2 separate regions of the Homo sapiens genome follow, and region 1 is linked to region 2. The links are contacts of gene promoters, found by promoter capture Hi-C in blood cells and fetal thymus (Javierre and others, 2016). All regions are on one chromosome and are shown on one strand. Each heading gives the region's core, a stretch centred on a gene start or on the middle of the fragment in contact. The rest is flanking DNA. Distances are from core to core; before and after follow the strand shown. Region 1 has its middle 26 kb from the start of MIR4730. Region 2 holds the start of RPTOR (regulatory associated protein of MTOR complex 1).

Region 1 (4,236 bases), core at 1,203-3,702, 100 kb after region 2:
GCAGCTGGGGAGGGTGACTTTGGACAGATGTCCTTGGGCTGTGAGGCAGCTGGGGAGGGTGACTTTGGACAGGTGTCCCCGGCACTGTGCCCCAGTCAGGTGCAACTAAGGGATGGGCTGTGCCTACTTTGAAGGTAACAGAGTCTGCCCAGGGCCACAGTCCAAGGGCGAGGCCCTTTTGGGGTGCCTGTCATGGCATCTGGTCATCAGCCACCTTGGCCCCTGCAAGCTGGGGCCACCCATGGGCACTCCTGAGCAAGGCCTGGGAGGGACCTGCCAGTGTCCTGGGAGCCACTCTGCCAAGGCTCAGTGGCGATGTCATACTTTGGAAAAGAAAAAGAAAAAAAAAAAGGCAACCACCAACAAACTAAGAGGCTGAGTCACAGCCAGGCGGAGGCATCTGTTGAATCCGAGAGAGCCATGGTGGCGATGGGGGCCCCCTTAGGCTTGGTGGGGGAGGGGGCACAGAGGGGCCACCTGCCCCATTTCCCTGCACTTTTGGAGGCACCAGGCAGCCTCTCCTGGAGGACACGTGCCCTTCCAGTGGGGTGCTCTGGTCAGAAAGCCCAAGGGGTCAAGCAGACTTCAGGCTCAAATTCCAGCTCAGCCATTCGTTGGCCCCTGGCCGGGGCCAGCTGCCCCAGCTTGCTCAGCCTCAGTCTCCTTTTCTGTCTAGTGGGCATAAGGGTGGCTCTTAGCATTCTTGTGCCAATTACAGAAGAGCTGAGTTCTCAGAGCAGCCTCTGGCACAGGACAGGGACTGAGCACAGACAACTTTGCTCTGTTTACTGCCATCATGAAAGAAAAGCCCCCTGAGGCCGGGTGGGCACCCCTCTCCTGGAGCAGGGATGCTGCAGGGTTTGTCCGTGGGGTCGTCTTCTCTGCTCAAGGCCCTCCTGATGCCCCAACAAATCGGCTTCCAAGGCTGTTGGTGGCCTTGGGCTGTCTCCTTGCCAACTCTCCCACACTCCCTCCTTCCTCGGATCCCAGTACTCCTGAGGGGTCTTGGATACAGTGTGATGGGCTTGGGGGGCAGCAGGGGCAGGGCAGGATCTTCTACCCTGGCCAGCATCCTGCCCAGCCTGGCAGGTCCCCTCACCGTGGGGCTCCTGCTGTGGCCAGGCAGGGACTGGGGAAAGCTGGCAAACTCCGAAGTGGCCTCACTTAACACACAGCATGGCCCCAGCCTTTCTGGGAGCCACAGCCTTGGAGCAAGGGGCGGAGGTGTAGCCCACGTGCCCCGGATCAGTCTGGCAGGGTGTGCTGGTGTCCCCTGGCAGGAGGCCCCTGCAGATGGCAGGCATCTGTGTGCGGAGGACGCCTTCATCCTGCCAAGGCACAGGGCTCCGGAGCGGGAAGGCACCCTCTAGACCATCCACACACACTCCTGGGGCCCGAGGCCTGCAGAAGGAAGGGACTTGCCCAGGGCCACCTGGCCAGGGGTGACAGGTCTCCCAGCCCTGATCAGGACCTCTAAGGCTCTGCATCCTCCGAGGCTGAGCCCAGATCCCCTGAGCCCCTGGCCCAGGAACGGGCTGCATGGGCCTCTCCCCAACCCTGGAGCCCATGTGATCCCAGCCCCCCTCCCTCTGATGGCTCCCGGCTCCCCCACCGGCGGGTGCCTGCCTCTCCCGCCCCCGCGCTCCCGGCGGGGAGGGGTTCCTATGGCACCCCTTCCCCCGCACACACTTAGCTCACTGGCAGCCCATCTGCCCCGAGACGGCGGCAGCAGATGCTTGGATGCACAGTGGTGCCTGCAACTTGGTCGGCCCAGTGCCTGTGGCGGGTGTGCACGCTGCCAGCCAAGGTGGGGGCCTGGGCCCTGAAACACCCACCCAGCTGGGGCAGAGGCCCCTCGTCCAAGGCCAGGCTATAGACAGATTAGGACACCCAGGTGCCTGCCAGTGCTGGGGACAGGGTGTCGGCAGAGCTGGAGTCAGAGCCGCCCCTGCAGCCCCTCCCCACCAGCATCCCCAGCCAGCGCTCCTGGGAGGGAACTGATGGATGGGCCACTCTCTAGCGGGCTGCACCCTCGCCTCCCTGACTCCCTGGGGAAGGCCCAAAGCGTGCAGATTCTGCTCCTAGGCCCCAGCCACAAGGAGGAGGCTGATGGGTGCCACGGACACACCCCACAGGGGCTGCCACTGCCCGAAGTGCATGCCAAGGTTTGTGGCAGAGGGTCTGGAGCTTCCCAGCAGCACAGAGGGTTAGACCCTCAGCTGGGGCTCAGGGGACAGGCCCCTTACCCTTAGCCTGCCTGAGCACCTCAGCCTCTGGTACCCCAGGCCCACCCTCCAGGTTCTGCTTAGCGCCCTTCCTCTCTCTCCTGACTTCTCACTCCCCCGAATGGGGGTGGGGGGCAGAGCTGGGTGCTAGGAGGTGGTGGCCATGGCCCCTGGATGCACATGGCCAGTGGGTGGACAGGCCTGGTTTCCATGGCAGCAGCCTCCAGCCCTGGGTCGGGAGAGGAGTGTGCTGAGACCCCCAGAGCCTGGCCTTTGGCCAGCCTCTCCCCACGCCCTCCCCACGCCCTCCCCTGCAGCCCTCCCCACTCCCTCCCCACGCCCCCCCACCCCCCCACGCCCTCCCCTGCCGCAGGAGCAGGGCTTTGTCATGCCTGGGTCCCCAGCTGGGCACAGGAGGGTGAGCCCAGCATGGGGCAGGGGCCTAGGGGGCCATGCACTGGTGGCTGCAGTGCCCCCACTGATATGGGGGTGGTGCCACCTCCAATAAAACAGAAGAGTTTGGCTAAGCCTGGAGCCCTGGGGACTTGGGCTTGACACTGGGGGGAACGTCCTGATTCCGGAAAGAATGAGAGCATCTCTGGGATCTGCTCCCAGGGCTGTTCACAGCCTCCAGCCCAGCGTCCTGGGTAAGAGGTGTGGGGAGGCAAAAGCGGCCTCAAGACAGGAGAGGCACGGCCTGCGGGGCGGAATGAGGGGGCCAGCTCGCCTCCTTAGGACCCCAGTAGCCGAGCCCCCAGGAGCGTCTGAAAGCCGCAGACTCCCAAGGATCGGGCAGCCCCCCTCCTCCCGGCACCCCCGCGGTGTGAGCTGCAGACACACAGGCACACCCGCACACATGCGCACGCCCCCGGGCCGCCTCTGCTCCCCTCGCGACTTGCGTTTGTTTTGCTCCGGCAGGGCTGGAATGGGGACACGCTGCACTCTCGCAATTGGCAGTTTCCTCCAAGCCCCCCGTGGAGGTGCCATATGTCCGCATCATGAATAGGCTTGAGGCTCCGTGCCATGGCCTGGGGGGCTGGGAAGAGGCAGCTGCCAATCACCCCCAAGTAGGCAAGGGGAGGGGGCTACCAGAGGGGCGGGGTGGGGGCACAGGCAAAGGCCAGGGGACAGGGTAGGGCCAGGGCTTCGTCACTGGTTCTCACAAGGGTGGGACACATCGCAGGTGACCCAAGGGCCTTTGCTGAAAACAAAGCAAAACCCAAAAAGTCCTGGGCTTTGACTTTGATAAGTGACCAAAGTCCCCGACCCTGCCACTCGGCCTCGGGCCCGTCCGTGTGCCGGCCGTCAGCCCAAGCCACCTCCCTCCTCCAGGACAGCCCAAGCCACCTCCTCCAGGATGCCTCCCTCCTCCCTGCGCCTCTGCTCCGGCATGTGCACCCTGGGAGCCTTCACCAGTGAGGTGGGTCCAAGGCCTCTCTTGTAGGGAGGAGAAGGAGGAACCAGGTTCAGCCAGCACCAAGTGGGGGCCACAGTGTTAGTTCCCACAACACTCCCAGAACTGGGGGTTATTATCCCCATTTTATAGATAAGAAAACAGAGGCCCGGCGAGGTTTTACTAAACTGTTTCAAGGTCTCCCAGCACAGCGACGGCAGAGCCAGATTCTGCTCAGGTCCGGACAGTGCACAGTCAATGGTCCCTTGCCCAAGCCTGGAGCAGCCCCGTCCCCTGCTGTGCCTGGGCACCCTCTGCCTGGTGGCCACCCACCCTGCCCCTTGTCTCAGGGACCTGGCTTCTCCTCCTCCACCTCCCAGCTCCGTGATGCACTCTGTCCTGCCCCCACCCCCCAACCCCCACTTAGAATGAACTCTTCTCTCCTCCTCCCAGCTCTGTGATGCTGTCACAGAGTCTCTCTGTGTCTCTCTGTCCCCCGCCCCTTAGAATGAACTCTTCTCCCAGCTCTGTGATGCTCTGTCCCCCACCTTAGAATGAACTCTTCTCTCCTCCTCCTGGCTCTGAGACACTCTGTCACCCTCTCTTAAAATGAACTCT
Region 2 (4,463 bases), core at 1,791-4,290:
CCTCCAGAAACTGTCACACACACTGTGCCAAATGTCAGCTGCCATTTGTCTTTATCTTTGAACCTATGCCATTATTCTTCTTAAATGTGGCCTGTTTCATTCTCTTATGCTACCATCCCCACTCAATATCATTTGAGTTTGCAACTTCTGTCCTATAGCATGTGTGATACGGTCCTTGAGGGAAGAGATGACAAGATTCCAAAGGACCTGACCTTTGGAAGAGGGAAGAGATGACAAGATTCCAAACTCCCACACACTCAACTGAAGATGTTAGCTGCTGATTTTCTCCACCGAAAAACAGATACAGCAAACTTTCTCCCCAGCTCCTTTCTAAGCAGCAATCTCAGTAGTCACTAAGAGTCACAGAACTTTTGTTTCTCTTAACAACCTGTGAAAAGCTTATTAGGGAATGTTGATCATTCACAAATTAATGTTTTAATTAAAAGGTCAAACGTATACCCATTAATCAGTTTCAAACTGTTGGAACATAGGTTTAGGACAGCAGAGAGAACCACATTTCAAAATAACAACAACAAAAAAACTGCCCTCCACAAAGAATTTTTTAAAAAGTCTTTTCATATATGTATAGCAACCACAAAAGCTTTTAACTATATAGTTACTACTAAAGATGTCCATAAGATAGAATTTATACAACCTCCCCCAATGACTAACTTATTTAACTCCTTAAAATGCTTTTGGATGAAACAAATTTTCCTAACCTTTTAGAAGTAAGCCAAGTCAGTAGCTAACTGGTTACTACTGACTGACTGACTAGAGTTACCAGAAGTTTTATTTATTTATTTATTTTTGAGACACAGTCTCACTCTGTCCCCTAGGCTGGAGTGCAATGGTGCGATTTCGGCTCACTGCAACCTCTGCCTCCCAGGTTCAAGCGATTCTCCAGCCTCAGCTTCTCGAGTAGCTGGGATTACGGGCACCTGCCACCAAGCCCAGCTAATTTTTGTATTTTTAGTACAGACAGGGTTTCACCATGTTGGCCGGGCTGGTCTCAAACTCCTGACCTCAGGTGATCCGCCTGCCTTTGGGAGGCCTGCCTTGGCCTCCCAAAGTGCTGAGATTACAGGCGTGAGCCACCGCGCCCAGCCCAGAAGTGTAATCTTATATATGTTCAACATCATATACTAAAAAACAATAATATTCCATAAACATATACATAAGCCTAGAGAAAATCAAACATTGTAACACCAACTTCCTCTTTTATACCACTGAAATGTGCAAATAAAAGCAGCCTGGAGGGAGAAAATAACTTACAAAAAGACAAATTATAAGTGTGCATAGAGGAGAAGCAGTACTACCCTTTTGCTTTTGAGGCCAGGAAATAGATGGGTGTTTTATGAAGGACAAATCCAACAAAATTCGGCTGTTTTCTTTCCTACCAGCTGCTTGTGAGTCACTCTCCACACTCCAAACACCATGCGGACACCCTAAAACCTGCACCCAAGTCTCGACGCCTCATACCCTAACTCACGATTAAAGAAATCCTGTTTCCAAGTTACAGCAACAGGACACTACATAAAAGGAGGAAAATCTAGCTTCAAGAGAAATTGTTTAGAAGACTAGAATGAAGTTCAGTGTAACTTTATAATAACTTTGCACTAATTTGTTACTAGTTGAACATTTTCCAGTAATCTCATTTCCTAGCATAGTATATCAGACTTCTGCACTTCACCCAGCTTGGATATTTTAAAAAGTAGACTAATCATGTGGGTATAAAGATTATATCGCACGTTGTCCTTCCTCTAAGTGTTTACAGAACTAAGTAGTATGCCAAAGAGCATGTAAATACTCGCAATGCTCTATTTTCAAATTTGCTTAACTTTTATTATCTGAATTAGAACTTAGTTGGAATTGAATTAACACTACCCAGTGAATAATGACTAACCAAAACAGCATTTTCCATTTTCAACCAAAAACTGCAGTCTGAAATGGCTTTTGCTTTCTAGTTGACTTACAACGTGTGGCTAGGGGGAAATGTCGGCGCTTTCCCAAGGACACTTTTCGGGCTGTAAACTTTCTTTGTTGGGGAAACTACCAAGTTCAAGGGGTGCCTTCAGAATCCACTTACCCGATCCTTCATCCTCCAGCTCTGAGCTAAGGATTTGGAGCCTTCAATTTTCTCACAGTGCCTCTTTTTCATAAAAGCCAAAGGTAGGTTCCAGTCTGTAAGATCAGCCTCATCTTCCTCCCCCAGGCCCAGAAGAGGCGATTGCAGCATTTCGGACTCCATCAGTGGGGGAGGGGGTGGGGGAGTCCTTGGCAGCAAGCGCTCGAGAACCTCCAGCCTTAAAAACTAGCGTGTACCAGAATTGGTGAAATAAGAAACAAAAACGGGAAATCGAAAACCAAATGGATAAAGAGTGCGGAGACCCTTACTCAGGCAAAAGTCTGAGATCCTTATCTCTAACTCTGAGCGGGAAGTGGGGAGGTGGGGGCCGCTAGGAAATGGGGCAGCCCAAGAAGCTCCGCAGACACACACCACCCCAGGTCCCAAGCCACTGGCTGCTCCTGAGGCTGTACGTTTCCAGAGGGGCTGCGAGGGGAGCTGCCAAAAGCGTAAGAGACTTCAGGCCTCACGATGACCCTGCTCTCGGCCTCCACCGCCTCAGCAGTTCCGAAGACAGGCAGGCCGCTCTTGGTGCCGGTTCGCCCACTGGGCCGACTGGGCTGAGGTCTCCGGCCAAGGGATCGGGTTCAAAGGGCCCTGGGTCTCCTCCAGCCACTCTCAGCCCTGCGGGTCCCGCACTCGTCTGAGCTGCTGCAACCAGAGCCACGACCGGCCCATCGTGCTCGCCTGCACCCGGTTCCTCAACCTCAGGTCCGCGCGGCCTGGCTGGTCCTGGCCTTCAGCCCCGAGGCTCTCTCCTGCCTGAGAACGAGTCCTGAGAAACGGGCGACACGGAACCACGGAGGAAAGGGACAATGTGGGCTTATTGGGTCATGGGAGCTTTGCCCTCTGGTTTGGAGCTACAGTGAAACTCATCTCATCAGCCCATCAAGGAGGACGCCATATTGCCAGGACCCAGAATGCACCGCGGCCTACGGCGTGGCCGACAGACCAAACCTCCTCAGAGCGGTCTCTCCCCGCCACCCAGCATGCAGCGAAGGAGAAAGAGTCCCCGACCCCGTTACCTCGGTTACCATAATTCCGTTTTCCCCAGTTAATCGCCATTTGTTCAGTAGAGGCGTGTTATTAAAGTCAATCCTACAAATGAAACTGTCGGTTTAATTTATTTTTTCAAAAACATTGTCATTATAAATGAAGTTACATGCTCCTGAAATTAAAGGAATCAACCGCCTTGTTTCTTCCAGATTTTGAAAAAGCGGCAAAAGCTTCACTGATAATATTAGAAAATATTAAAAAGCACTGATAATATTAGAAAATATAGTACTTTTTTTTTTGGAGTGTAGTGTCCTCCACAGTGTCAATCAGATTTTCTCTTTAATTTTTTCATAGAGAACCAAGTGAAAGGCCGGGCGCCGTGGCTCACGCCTGTAATCCCAGCACTTTGGGAGGCCGAAGCGGGCAGATCACGAGGTCAAGAGATCGAGACCAGCCTGGCCAACATGGTGAAACCCCGTCCCTACTAAAAATACACAAATTAGCTGGGCGTGGTGGTGCGCGCCTGTAATCCCAGCTACTCAGGAGGCTGAGGCAGGAGAATTGCTTGAACCCGGGAGGCGGAGGTTGCAGTGGGCCAAGATCGTGCCACTGCACTCCAGCCTGGGAGACAGAGCAAGACTCTTCAGATGAAGAAGGGTCTGAAGCAACAGAAGAAGAGTCTGGAGCAAGATTCGATGAAAAAAAATTTCATCTAATACAATTTTTTGTTTAATCTGTTTCGTTTTCTGAGCAGTTTATCCTTTTTAAATTTTTTTCCCACTTCTTGGTAGCAGTAGTTTATTCTTATTTTGATATAGCTTCACGTGCAGACATCTAAAACTACATGTCTGTGCGTGGAGGCAAGCCTCTTGTGTGACTCTCTTTTTCAATTCAGGAAATTTGGCTCATTTACAATGTATAGAGAACTGTGTAAGGTGGACTATAAAACCAAATGTAGGCAGGGCACCGTGGCTCACGCCTATAATCCTAGCCCTTTGGGAAGCCGAGGAGGGTGGATCACGAGTTCAGGAGTTCGAGACCAGCCTGGCCAACATGGTGAAACGCCGTCTCTAATAAAAATACAAAAATTAGCTGGGCGTGGTGGCGTGCGTCTGTAGTCTCAGCTGCTCGGGAGGCTGAGGCAGGAGAAGAGCTGGAACCTGGGAGGCAGAGGTTGCAGTGAGCCGAGATTACACCACTGCATTCCAGCCTGGGTGACAGAGTGAGATTCCATCTCAAAAATAAATAAATAAATAAATAAATAAATAAGAATAAAACGAGGCCAGGCGTGGTGGTGCACGCCTGTAATCCCAGCACTTTGGGAGGCTGAGGTGGGTGGATC

The links. Contacts are between HindIII fragments. The CHiCAGO score rates a contact against its expected background, and 5 or more counts as called.
Region 1: a contact is called between a fragment that was not itself captured here and the fragment with the promoter of RPTOR in region 2, in 1 of 17 cell types (endothelial precursors). The highest score is 5.0, in endothelial precursors.

The regions. Positions count from the first base shown.
Region 1 is chr17:80,442,972-80,447,207 of GRCh38, reverse strand. No RefSeq gene overlaps it. Among named protein-coding and RNA genes, the nearest start is that of MIR4730, 26 kb to the right of the region's middle. RefSeq lists an enhancer at 795-1,577. The HindIII fragment of the contact is 5,416 bases long and covers 1-4,236 here.
Region 2 is chr17:80,543,415-80,547,877 of GRCh38, reverse strand. RPTOR (regulatory associated protein of MTOR complex 1) reads right to left here and starts at 3,040. Exons shown (of 34, transcript NM_020761.3): 1 at 2,087-3,040. The coding sequence starts at 2,248. RefSeq lists enhancers at 1,693-2,519, 2,447-2,546, 2,827-3,186, 2,520-3,346. The HindIII fragment of the contact is 2,750 bases long and covers 604-3,353 here.